Linked DNA regions of Homo sapiens: all the other regions are linked to region 2. The links are contacts of gene promoters, found by promoter capture Hi-C in human tissues and cell types (Jung and others, 2019). All regions are on one chromosome and are shown on one strand. The core of a region is centred on a gene start or on the middle of the fragment in contact, and the rest is flanking DNA. Distances in the headings are between cores, read along the strand shown.

Evidence for each region. The method cuts DNA at HindIII sites, captures the fragments that hold promoters and counts their contacts. A contact is called where the count stands out against the background at its distance.
Region 1: a fragment that was not itself captured here is called in contact with the fragment with the promoter of FBXO15 in region 2 in 1 of the 25 tissues and cell types used here (dorsolateral prefrontal cortex).
Region 3: a fragment that was not itself captured here is called in contact with the fragment with the promoter of FBXO15 in region 2 in 1 of the 25 tissues and cell types used here (dorsolateral prefrontal cortex).

What each region holds. Positions count from the first base shown.
Region 1 is chr18:72,871,832-72,876,105 of GRCh38, forward strand. All of the region lies in intron 1 of NETO1-DT (NETO1 divergent transcript), which reads left to right. Among named protein-coding and RNA genes, the nearest start is that of NETO1-DT, 5.6 kb to the left of the region's middle. The HindIII fragment of the contact is 4,400 bases long and covers 1-4,182 here.
Region 2 is chr18:74,146,357-74,150,523 of GRCh38, forward strand. It overlaps FBXO15 (F-box protein 15), which reads right to left and starts at 1,478. Exons shown (of 10, transcript NM_001142958.2): 1 at 1,314-1,478. The coding sequence starts at 1,429. TIMM21 (translocase of inner mitochondrial membrane 21) reads left to right here and starts at 2,167. Exons shown (of 6, transcript NM_014177.3): 1 at 2,167-2,753. The coding sequence starts at 2,453. RefSeq lists a silencer at 1,208-1,357 and enhancers at 2,048-2,167, 2,198-2,247, 2,328-2,417, 4,161-4,167. The HindIII fragment of the contact is 7,122 bases long and covers 1-4,167 here.
Region 3 is chr18:72,849,396-72,853,416 of GRCh38, forward strand. All of the region lies in intron 4 of NETO1 (neuropilin and tolloid like 1), which reads right to left. It overlaps MIR548AV (microRNA 548av), which reads right to left and starts at 3,987; the gene lies at 3,926-3,987. The HindIII fragment of the contact is 7,607 bases long and covers 1-4,021 here.

The sequences.
Region 1 (4,274 bases), core at 733-3,232, 1.3 Mb before region 2:
ATGCTACAAAAAATAACTCAAATGTAATAGTGCTAATGACACATCCATATTACAATAATATTTTCTGATTTTTACATAATTTATTTACATGGTTGTGAAGTGTAAAGGTTTTTGCATTTAACAATATATGTCATAATACTAGTTTCTCAAAAACAAGTAATTTGCTGGTAAATATAGGAATGTTTTTTGAAAATTCTCTGAAATAGTCTAACATGAAGCTGGTTTTAAGCAATATTGAAGAAGCTCTCTTCAAAAAATCTATAGGAGTATCCTAACGCAGTAGAAAGTCTCCACGAAATAGAAGACCTGTCAAAATCTCTGAAATCTTACATTTAAACCAAACAGGATATTTTATGATCACCACTAGGGAAAAATAAAATATAGTTTTGTTAGAAGTACAAATATATTGTATTCTTAGGCAGCACAAGAATGTTTGCCTCTTGTGGGAAAGAACTTTCATAGCACTTCCTTTGCCAGTTAGCACTTTCAGATACATGATCCTTCAATCCATATCAAAACTTCAGAAAAAAAATTTTCATTTTGATTGATATTTACTTCGCAGTGGCTTATAAAAATAATACCAATTATTTTTATGATCACTCGACTAATTATAAGCTCATCCTCTATAAATCAACATAAACTTCAGGAACATTTACGAAGATACACCCCAAGATTAAAAGTGTAAAGGCTCTGTACAGAAGCCACCTTTATAGTATAAGTATTGTACCACAAAGTCCACGCACTGCTATTTCAGGGAAAAAACAAGTTTCCACTCCTAGAAGACGGCATATTTGGAAAATATAAGCTAAACTAAAGGGTAAATCTACATATTCCATGTCAAAATAACCATTAATAAATACAAACAAAATGTTACTTCAGTGTGCTAAATCAGACATGTGAAAGTTTCTCATGGGTTAGACATACTTTGTGTGTGCGTGTGTGTGTGTGCGTGTGTGTGTGTGTTGAAGTCTCGCCCTGTTGCTCAGGCTGGAATGAGGTGGCACGATCTCGGCTCACTACAACCTCTGCTCCCTGGGTTCAAGCCTGCCACAACCTCCAGAGTAGCTGGGATTACAGGTGTGCGCCACCACGCCCGCACAATTTTTTTTTATATTTTTAGTAGAAACAGGGTTTTGCCATGTTGGCCATGCTGGTCTCAAACTCCTACCATCAGGTGATCAGCCCGCCTCAGCCTCCCAAAGTGCTGGGATTACAGGTGTGAGCCACAGCGCCCAGCCTTTTTTCATAATTATATAAGTTAATAGCATCACATAAACTTAATAACTTTGGCTATTTAGCACATACTTTAATCTTATTATGATATATTATTATGTGGATTTGGAAACTAACAAAAGCCATGATTTGCTTGGTGAAAGTAACCCTGGATGTTAAGGTAGGACTTAACATCCAGGACTTACCTGACTTAAATACATTTTGAGGAGAGTACCAAGCTTTTGTGCATGAAGGGAAATGTTAAATGAAAATCTTCCTTTTTTAAACACTAATTACCTGATTTACCTATTCTTTCTTTGAGTGTCCATTCTCTGTTATAATTAATATGTGTAAGGAAATGTCCTACCATGTTTCCATTTACATTTGCAAGACAAGATATGAAACATAAACTAACTTTGTTTTCAGTTTTAGGTTAGATAAATTTACAAATAATATATTTTCAGAAAGTAGCAATGTATATAGCAGCAGAATTTTTGCCAAATAGTTATAGTTACAATAATTTTCAAAAATTAAGGCAAAATATATTTTACTTTTTAGTAAATTATTATTTAAATATTCTCTATTATAGTTTTATAATTGATAGATGCAGTTAATTTTTGGTATATATATTTTTTCTTTTCTTTTCTTTTCTTTTTTTTTTTTTTTTTGAGACTGAGTCTTGCTCTGTCACCCAGACTGGAGTGCAGTGGCGCGATCTTGGCTCACTGCAACCTCCACCTCCCGGGTTCCAGTGATTCTCCTGCCTCAGCCTCCCAAGTAGCTGGCACGTACCACAATACCTGGCCACTTTTTGTATTTTTATTAGAGACGGGGTTTCACCATATTGGCCAGGCTGGTCTTGAACTCCTGTTCTCAGGTGATCCACCTGCTTCGGCCTCCCAAAGTGCTGGGATTACAGGCGTGAGCCACAAGCAATCGATAATTCACCACAATTTCCAACACGCTCACTAACTCCCTGACACTATGTAGGAAATATCCAGCCAGGCGCAGTGGCTCATGTCTGTAATCCCAGCACTTTGGGAGGCCAAGGTGGGTGGATCACTTGAGGTCAGGAGTTCGAGACCAGCCTGGCTAACATGGTAAAACCCTGTCTCTGCTAAAAATACAAAAATTAGCTGGGTGTGCTGGTGCATGCCTGTAGTCCCAGCTACTTGGAAGGCTGTGGCAGGCGAATTGCTTAAACCTGGGAGGTAGAGGTTGTAGTGAGCCGAGATCACACCACTGCACTCCAGTGTAGGCAACAGAGCAAGACTCCGCCTCAGAAAAAAAAAGGGGTGGTAGGGGGGGAATATCCACACTACTTTCCATTTCATTTGCACTAATATGAAGTTTTGCATCTCTATCAAAACTCTTAAGACACCAGTTTTTACTAATTAGCACACAGGATATAGTTGTGATTTGTTAGGTCTTACTTGCCCTGCCTATGTATGTATTTCCGTTGGCAATCCTTGATCTTATCGTATCTTATCATTTTTTAAATGAAGAAAATGAGGCCAAAAGAAGTGCAGTGATTTCTATAATGCCACTTTTTTTGGTAACTCCATAACTGATAGAATCCAAGACCTTCTACCATACTGGGGAGGGGGGCGAGGTGGGCCGGGGGGGGAAGCTACATAGATGATTTCACCGGAGTTCAAGGGAAAGCCCTCATTCTTTCTGCATGTTGCCAGTCACTCACTTCTAGCCAGAGTGTGAGTGCCTCGAGGCCACTGCCAAATGTAATAAGCTTTATGACAGTTGATCCCAAAAAGAAAAGAAAAAAATATATTAAAAAAGGGCAATTATCGGGGAAAAATAAAGCAAATTCATTGTAGGGAACTGCACAGGGATCAGAAATCCCATGGCATGAAGATGGTAAAAATGAGAGAGAGCAGAGATTATCAAGTTATTGAAAGTCTTACTGGAATCACACACATTTATAGACACACATGCAGTATAAGGAGAGAATAGATGAGTAGAAAGGGAATATAATATCCTAGCTGAATAATAATAACTTGACCTCCTAGAAAAGCGACAGTTCCTTAATACGATGTTAAATCCTTAATGTTAAAACATGATGTGTAGAAGTTGAGAGCATTGAAGTCAAGAACATTTTGTTTGAATACCAGGTCTATCAGTTACTAGGTATATAATAATTACTTAAACTTTCTTAGCCTATGCGCTCTCCTCTGTAAGACAGTCCTAATAACACATAGGACTATTTAAGAGTTTAAATGGGAAGACATCAAAAGCACTGAGCACAGTGGTAGCATATATAAATAAATATTTATGTTTTGTTAACACGGTCAGTACTGCCCATGATTGTGAACAGCAGCATATGGAAGCTGTTCCATGCAAGCCTAGAGATGGCTAATATCCATATCTATAAGTGTACCCAGAACTATGCAGGTACCTATACCTACTTCAATATCTATGTCTACACCTATATTTGTATTTATGTCTCTATCTGCATCATCAAGCATATGTCTTTTATAGTTTAATATAACAATGCTGATAGAGACCTAAGTCAAGAAAGGTTCATATGCCTCAAAGCCAAGCTCAATAACCAATACGAAAAATGTGAAAATCTCTGTAGGAAACAGAAGAATCGTGTCCTTGGTGGAGGAAACTGGAGAAGGCTAAGGGCTATAAGTGGGGACGTTCTGAGAGATAGTTCTGTAATAATGCCATCTCAGAGTGATAAGGGTAAAGTAATAACGAAAAAGGAAAAGGAATATTTCAACTTAATGATATTTCATAATATAATTATACAATATCATAAGACTTCAAAACAAAAACAGGCATAGAGGACTAAATAGAATATTTTGTACAAAAAATACATGACTAGAATCACGATAATAACATTTAATAAAATTGAAGACAGAGAAAAATTCTTAAAGATTATGGAAAGAAAAGAAGACGGTAATAACAACAAACAGATTATTTCAGAAAAGAGCAAGAATTAGACTGACAACCATCTTTGGAAAAATGACATTGGGCACAAAAGAATCAATGGAACTGTACTGTCAGGATGTTAAAGAAAAACTTTTTGAACCTAATAT
Region 2 (4,167 bases), core at 228-2,727:
GCATACATTTCCAAATCAGCTTGAAATGCAGGTTCCCATGCCAGGCATAATGACAGGCCCTCTAATTATATCAATCCAGGAAGTTCACTCAACTTACAAAGGATAAAAGATTCATCATATAAAAATCATTCTGCTTCCCCCTAATAGAGCACTATGTAAAGACTAATTTTAGTAATAGCAGCAAATTGATTAAAAGTTCAAGTTTCCTATTTAAATTCCTGCTTTTTCTCCTACATAAAAGAATTTTTGCAGGCATTGTCACCATTCTATTTGTGACAAGGCTTGTGGTATGTCTAGCATTATAGGTATTCAATTAAGAACTATTATCACAGCACTAAGCAACAGGGCTGGGCTTCTGAAAACAGGTAAGTGGAAGTAATGGAGACCTAGAGAGGACACAGGACATAGTTCTGGAGATTCAGGGGGAAAAAACAAGTAGTTCAACTAGTATGTAATAGACTCCCTTTGTGTGCTTAAACATAGACCATTGGTTTATTAGAAGGCAAAATATGCATGACTTTCCCTATTTATAAATCAAGGAGTCTTACAAGCAGAAAGATAATCCTCAAGAATGTAAACCATTCTTGGCATTATCCCTCCATCTGTAAACTAACTGCAGTGATGGGTACACAGCTAGGGAACAGCTCACGATATAATGAGAGGGATTTCATAAGGTACCATTATGCATGCTGATACTTCTGATGCACTGGCTCATTTTACTTCTTCACGCTGAAGATGCTTCTGGAAAGCAGATGAGCAAGACCTGGCAATGTAGATGGCAACTTAGCCTTGACGTTGGAGGTGCAGAAAGTGCTGCCCCCCACCCGCCAGACCAACCTGCCTGCCCGAGGTATCTGCTTGGGGGATGAGGGTGTCAACTGATAAGGTTTTGATGAACAGACTCTACTTCCCTAAGTTGTAAGGTCATGAAAAACACGAAGGGAGATTCTTGGTTACAGAAGAGCGAAAATACGAAGGCAGGGGCGGAGCACACGTGAATTTAGGGCACGCATCCCGGAGAAACGACCTCTTGGACCTGCACCTGTCCTGGCAGGTGCGCGCATCCCCGGCCACAGGCGCCGCAAGAAAAAATATTTCCCCGAGAGGCTACTCTATTTGTGTCATAACTTAGGGTACCCCACGTTGCAGGGTAGAAAGGATTTCCTCCGGTCGTTCTTCCATACCCTTCTCACGTTGAAGACGGCCACGGGCCTTGCGCCAAGCTGGACGAATAAAATACACGGTGAAGAGAGCGGGGCCGCGCAGTGACGGGCTTCCCGCCAGGGGACCCCACCCGCAGGCCCTACAGTCACCTGCACCCAAAGGCCCTGGCGCGCCCCCGGGCCGCGCCACCGCCCCTGCTGGGCCCGCGCAGCGTCTGGAGGCCGAGCCAGTGCTGCTGCAAGATCCGACCGCGTCCAGTCGCCATAGAGACAAGGAGTTCACCACAGGACCGCGCCAGGGCTGAAACGAAGAGTGCACGCACCGCCCCCACGCCCGCACGTCGCCACACCCCTTATGCGCATGCGCGCGTGAGCAAAAGTAACGGTATGCCCACCCTTGCGCAGACGGCACCGCGCCAGACACCCGCTCACAGAGCGGGCTTCTAGAAACTTCCGGGCCTCGGCTTCCTTACCCACCCCTAACATTCTGCCGCCTAGGGCGCCAAGCCAAGTTCGCGGCTTAACCATTTAGGAAACCGGTGCCTGCTTTGCAGCGGCCTCGTTCATCCCCACTTGCTGACTCTTTATTGTCCAGTTTTTCTGAAAACACAGTAAAACGCAAAAACTAAATCATTTGCCCACGCGGAATTGGCAAGACCACAGTCCAAGGGGGTATTTCCCACTGTGCACAGTCCTCTCTATAAGGATCAGGAAAACACGTAGATTGTAACTGCTAATTTGGCTTTTGCAAGTCCCGCCTGAACCACGTAGGGTGGGTGGTACCAATTCCCCCACCAACACCCCACTTTCCGCCGCTCCAGGGACGCGCAGCGTCTGCGCCGACGCTGGGCGCGGAGGCGTCTGGGGGCGCGGGAAGGACCTGCGCCGTGCTCTGGCCGCCTTGAATTGTGGGAGATGTAGTCTCTTTTGCGCGCCTCTTTGCCGTATCCCAGTTAAGAGCGAGGTTTTCAAACTACTATTCCCAGGAAGACGGGGGTTTCCCAGGTGACTTTGCGAAGGCATGGCGGGGACACTGTGAATGTCAGCCCAGAAGGTGATCAGAGCCTGTTAATTAAAATGGAAAGAAGACAGAAGGGAAGGTAGACATCAGGTTCTCCCTGGAGACTTTTCGTTTTCATTTACGCTGCGGAAACTGACGTTTTTGCCTAACACCCCATGTAATGTAAACGTATAGGCTTGAGTACGTGTCCGGCCGCATGTGTAGTGAACCCTAAAGCTTTCCTAATTGTAGTTAGCATCGTCCCTAAGCGGAACGATTTTCCGTGAACATGATTTGTACTTTTCTACGAGCCGTACAGTATACGGAGAAGCTGCACAGGTCCTCGGCAAAGCGATTGCTTTTGCCATACATCGTGCTTAACAAAGCGTGCTTGAAGACTGAGCCCAGTTTGAGATGTGGGCTTCAATATCAAAAGAAAACGCTGCGACCTAGATGTATTCTTGGAGTCACCCAGAAAACCATCTGGACGCAGGGACCGAGCCCCCGAAAAGCAAAGGAGGATGGCAGCAAACAAGTGTCTGTGCACAGGAGTCAGAGAGGGGGAACCGCCGTCCCAACATCACAAAAAGGTAAAAAGGAGTACTTTAATGATTGGGCTTTCAACAGACATGACAAGAGCTGCCAATGCCCTTTTATACCAAGTTCACTGCTAAAGGTGAAAAAGCAATTCACATGAATTTTTAAAAACCGTTTAAACATAATTTAGAACTAGAACATATAGATCTACAGTTTTCTTCACAGATTGGAACTCAGATGTGAAAGTTGATCTTGAATTTGATATAACTTTTTTTCATTATGTTTGGGAAATTTTTCTCAAGTTATATTGGCTCTGTTACATATAATAAAGAGTAATTGGATAGGATAAAAAGAGAGAGAGAGAGATTATTGACTCATAACTGGTAGGGAAAACTTTCACATGTTACCTGCAGTAATAGAAAAACATAAAATAGGGAGGATGGAATGTAAGTTGTCAGGGAAAGTCAGAGATGTATTCACAGATATTTTAAGATTTTTTTTTAATGTCTTCATTTCGCATGTGATTTGTAGGAAAAAAAAAGACAAAGCAATTTAGACCGCCATGATTATACCACACGAAGATGACTATTTTTAACATTTTGCACTTTCATACACATACCTTTTAATAATTTTTAACCCAAAAAATTGGATCATACCAATTGTTTTAGAGTCTGCTGACTATGCCAAAAACCTAGCTTTTCATTCATACTAGTTCAGCACGAAGGAACAACCTGTATGCAGAGGTGAAAGGCATAGAAGTGGCAAACAGCATGTGCATCAGGTCATCTGGCTCAGGCAACAGTGCTCATGCTTGCACTGCACACCAGGCCTGCTTAGGGACCCCTTCCCTCATCTGCACCCCATTCAGACGTGACAGTCCTTGTGGCTGAGTGAATTGATGGGAGCAACATTCCCAAATATGGAATATGCTGCGTCCAGAATTCAAACAGGCCTATGAAGCATTGTGGTAGGAGGTATAGGGTACAATTGTCTTTTACTTGGGAGGGCATGTCTTGGCACGCCCCAGTGTAGCCCCACGAGGTCGGCTCATGTGTTGATGAGCCTCTGCATCTTTGTTGGACCCACCTCTCACACTTGCAGCTTCTCTGACCAAGCCTTCTAACACACTTGCCACTTGTTACTTATGGGCTCTAACATGATGGCATAAATATAGTAGACAAATGTGATATTCTCCTGAATGTCCAGAACAGCATTATTCAAATAAAACTTTCTGCATAGAAATGTCCTATATCTGTGCTGTCCATTTGGGTAGTTCCTGGCCACTTGTAGCTATTTTGAGCACTTGAAATGTTGCTAAAACTTGTGACTGAAGAACTGAATTGATTTAATTTTAATTAATTTAAAATTGAACTGAAATAGCCATGAGTGGCAAGTGGCTACTGTATTAGACAGCCCAGGTCCAGAAGGTTTCAGTCCCTTAAGACTGTTATGATAGAGGGTGAGAGA
Region 3 (4,021 bases), core at 196-2,695, 1.3 Mb before region 2:
TGATGAAGATTTAGGTATTCTTTAAGACATGCATGTTTTCTCTACCATGCTTCTCACTTCCTTCTGTGTCCTTGTGCCAGAGTCAGTAAGATTCATATTTCTACTAACAGTAAGTTTAAGGCAATATAGACGTTTTTCTAACATGCTTCTCAAAATTCTTCCAGCTTTTGCCAACTGCCTAATTCCAAAACTATTTCCAAATTTTAAGGTTTTTATTTATTTATTTTACTGTAGCACTTCACTTTTAGGAAATAAAATCAAGTATTTGTTTCTTATTTGTTGCTTTAACAATTACCACAACTTAGAACCTTAATAAACAACAGGAATTTATCTCTGGTTCTGATGTCAGAAATCTGAATGGGTCTCACTGGCCTAAAAATCAAGGCATTTGCAGGGCTGTGTTCCTTTCCTTGGAGGCTGCAGGAGACAAGTCATACCTGGTCTTTTCCGTTCTAGAAGCTGTCCACATTCTTTGGCTTGCTGCCACTTCATCCATCTTCAAAGCCCACAATAGCAGCTGGAGTGTTTCTTACATCCCATCACCCGATCCTGACCCTACTGCCTCCTTCGTTACATACTGAGAAAGCCTTGTAATTACACTGGGTCCTCCCAGATAATCCAAGATAATCTCCCTTTATTAAAGTCAGCTTATTAGCATTATTAATACAACTTTCCACCTTCACATCTCTTTGCCATAGAACTTGACATATTCATAGATTGCAGAAATTAGGACATAGACATCTTGTGGGGAGGGTATATTATCTGGCTACTATACATGGCTTCTAGTTTTTAACAGACTATGAACTCACTGTATGAAAGCTAGGGTCTTGCAGATACTATATTTCTACAGTGTTAGCATAGTGGATCAATAAACAGTTGTTAAATAAGTGTAGGTGGCTAATATCACCTAGTAGAAATCAAGGTCTTCTGTGCATTCACTTTAAGAATATTAACATGAGTTATACTCAAGTAGTTGTAATGGCATGCAAATTATAAAATATAATAGGAAAAATGTTTTGGTCTAGACAAAGAACACTATGGGTTGTTTATAATTCCTTGATTTAGTTTTCAAATAATTAAATAAAAATAAGCCTCAAATTGTCTGCAAATTGTTATGAAAGGAAATGTTTAGGAGAATAAATAGACTCGTCAATATTTTCTTAGGAAAAATATACAGGGCTTTAGTAATTTGAAAAGCATGTTTCTTGAATACAATAATGAGTTAAATGTTAGTCAGAGATTTCAGAAGATTTTACCAAGAAGCCCAGTAACTAAAGACATTGAGATGCATGAAAGTTCAAAATGGAGATTGAGTGTAAGAATTATTTATTTGTTTTGTTTTTGTCATGTTTCTTGAGTTTTTCTCTTGTCAAGTGATACAATTTATCTTTAGGGAAATTTAGTGAGGGGTGTGGGTGCTGGTCATTTGATGATGGGATTCGACATAGAGGTAACCTTAGGACTGACCCAAGCAAGGCCTCTACCATTCCATAAAACAACATTTTGTAGATTAGCCAACAGTCCCACTTCTGGATGGAGCCCTGCTCTGGGGAATCTGAATGTGCATGGAACGAGCTCATTTCTGTGCTGCAACTGAGTGTCTTTCCTGTGTACTGCTGGGATCAGCAGCCCTGAATAGAGGGATGGAGTGGGAGGTGAGCGAAAGGAACCGGCATCACAGGAAAAACCCAAAGAAACCTGGGTGTTAGGGAGCAGGAAAATTCGTGGGAGATCGGCCGGGCATGGTGGCTCACGCCTGTAATCCCACCACTTTGGGAAGCCCAGGCTGGCGGATCACCTGAGGTCGGGAGTTCGAGACCAGCCTGATCAACGTGGAGAAACCCTGTCTCTACTAAAAATACAAAATTAGCCTGGCGTGGTGGCGCATGCTTGTAATCCCAGCAACTAGGGAGGCTGAGGCAGGAGAATTATGTGAACCCGGGAGAAGGAGGTTGTGGTGAGCTGAGATTGCACCACTGCACTCCAGCCTGGGCAACAAGAGCGAAACTCCCTCAAAACAAAAAAAGAAAAAAGAAAGAAAGAAAACAAAATTCGTGGGAGATCTAGGAGAAATAAACTAAAGTTTTCCCCTTGAGTATTTAACATGTGAGCCACAAGTTTCAACTAATGAGAGCACGGTACACACAGAAGACTATGTCAGTAATAATAGGTATTTGAGAAGAACAGGAAATGAATCATGCACTTTAGGCTCAGATGGGTTGAGAAGGCACAATTTTACAATTGAGGTAGAAGGAGAGACGAAAAACCATCCTTTCTTTGGACATTGCGAGTGGAAAAACATTTCAAACAACATGGAGAAGATGAATTTTAAAATCATGTATCAGTTAATGGTGAAACGCGGGTGATATATATAGTATTATCCCTTAATTAAATTTCTTAATATAACCGTACTAAAATTACTTGCAATATGTGATGTAATTAAAGTTATAATCTCAACACTTTGTAGAAGGTGTATCAGCACCGTGCTTATATAACTGATACACAAGTAGTAATTTAATATTTACAGAGTACCTGAACCCAGGCCACACATTTTCTCTAGCACTCTGCTCTCTTGATTTTTAAGTAGAAAGGTTGAAGGAAATAAATTCCAAGGTCTTTTCTAATCTAAGGAAAACATATATCAATAATGGAAATATATCTAGGACCCCATGTGTTCCAATCTCAGATGTACTCTATTTAAAACATAGTCCGGCGATTAGCCGATAAATAAATATAAACACACTTAAGTACTCTTCTTTTCTCCACCTCTCCAGGAAACAAGATGAGGAAGACACCTTTCTTCCTTTTCATGTTTGTTTGTTTGTTTGTTTCTTTTTGAGATGGAGTCTCGCTCTGTGGCCCAGGCTGGAGTGCAATGGCATGATCTCGGCTCACTGCAACCTCCGCCTCCTGGGTTCAAGTGATTCTCCTGCCTCAGCCTCCCGAGTAGCTGGGACTACAGGCACATGCCACCACGACCGGCTAATTTTTCTGTATTTTTAGTAGAGACAGGGTTTCACCGTGTTAGCCACGATGGTCTCCATCTCCTGACCTCGTGATCCGCCGGCTTCAACTTCCCAAAGTGCCGGGATTACAGGCGTGAGCCACCGTGCCCGGCCGGAAGACACTCTTTCTTTATGGGAAACTTCTTAAAAATCTTCCTTTTCCTTTGCCACTGCTTTCAATATTCTCTGCACAGATGGGAGCTAATCCTGGAAATTTTCTCTCCCACTCTCAGCTTTTCTCCTGAACACCCACCTAGACCAAACAAGATTTCTGTCTCTCTTCATTCCTCATCCCTCCTCCTGAGCCCACTATTATACAGATAAGGTAAGCCAAGTCATGGACTGGCCAGAAAAGTGAGAGATGGAAGAAATCACCTTCACATGAATATCTTGATTATTCAAAAATATCAATACATTGATAATTTTCTTTTTCTTTTTTTTTTTTTTTTTGAGACAGGGTCTTGCTCTATTGCCCAGGCTGGAGTGCAGTGGCATGATCTCAGCTCACTGCAACCTCTACCTCCCGGATTCAAGCAATTCTCTCGCCTCAGTCTCCCGAGTAGCTGGGATTACAGGCGCCTGCCACCACGCCCGACTAATTTTTTTGTATTTTTAGTAGAGACAGAGTTTCACCATGTTGGCCAGGTTGGTCTCAAACTCCTGACCTAAGGTGATCCACCCGCCTCAGCCTCCCAAAGTGCTGGGATTACAAGCATGAGTCACCGCACCTTGTCACACATTGGTAATTTTCTCAGTGCTGTGATTCTCTGTGATTTTCAAGTTTTTAAATTCATTTCTTGAAAAATATGCCTCAAGAATAAATGTGATTATGCTCCTTACCTTTTCCATTTAAGAGCCTCTGCTAGGGCTGAAATGAGAATATTTTGAGTCAGTAGTATAAACAGAACATTCAGGTTGGTGCAAAAGTAACTGCAGTTTTGCCATTAAAGGTAAAGGTGATGGCAAATCCGCAAGTACTTTTGCACCAAGTCATAGTTAAAAAGACAACACATACT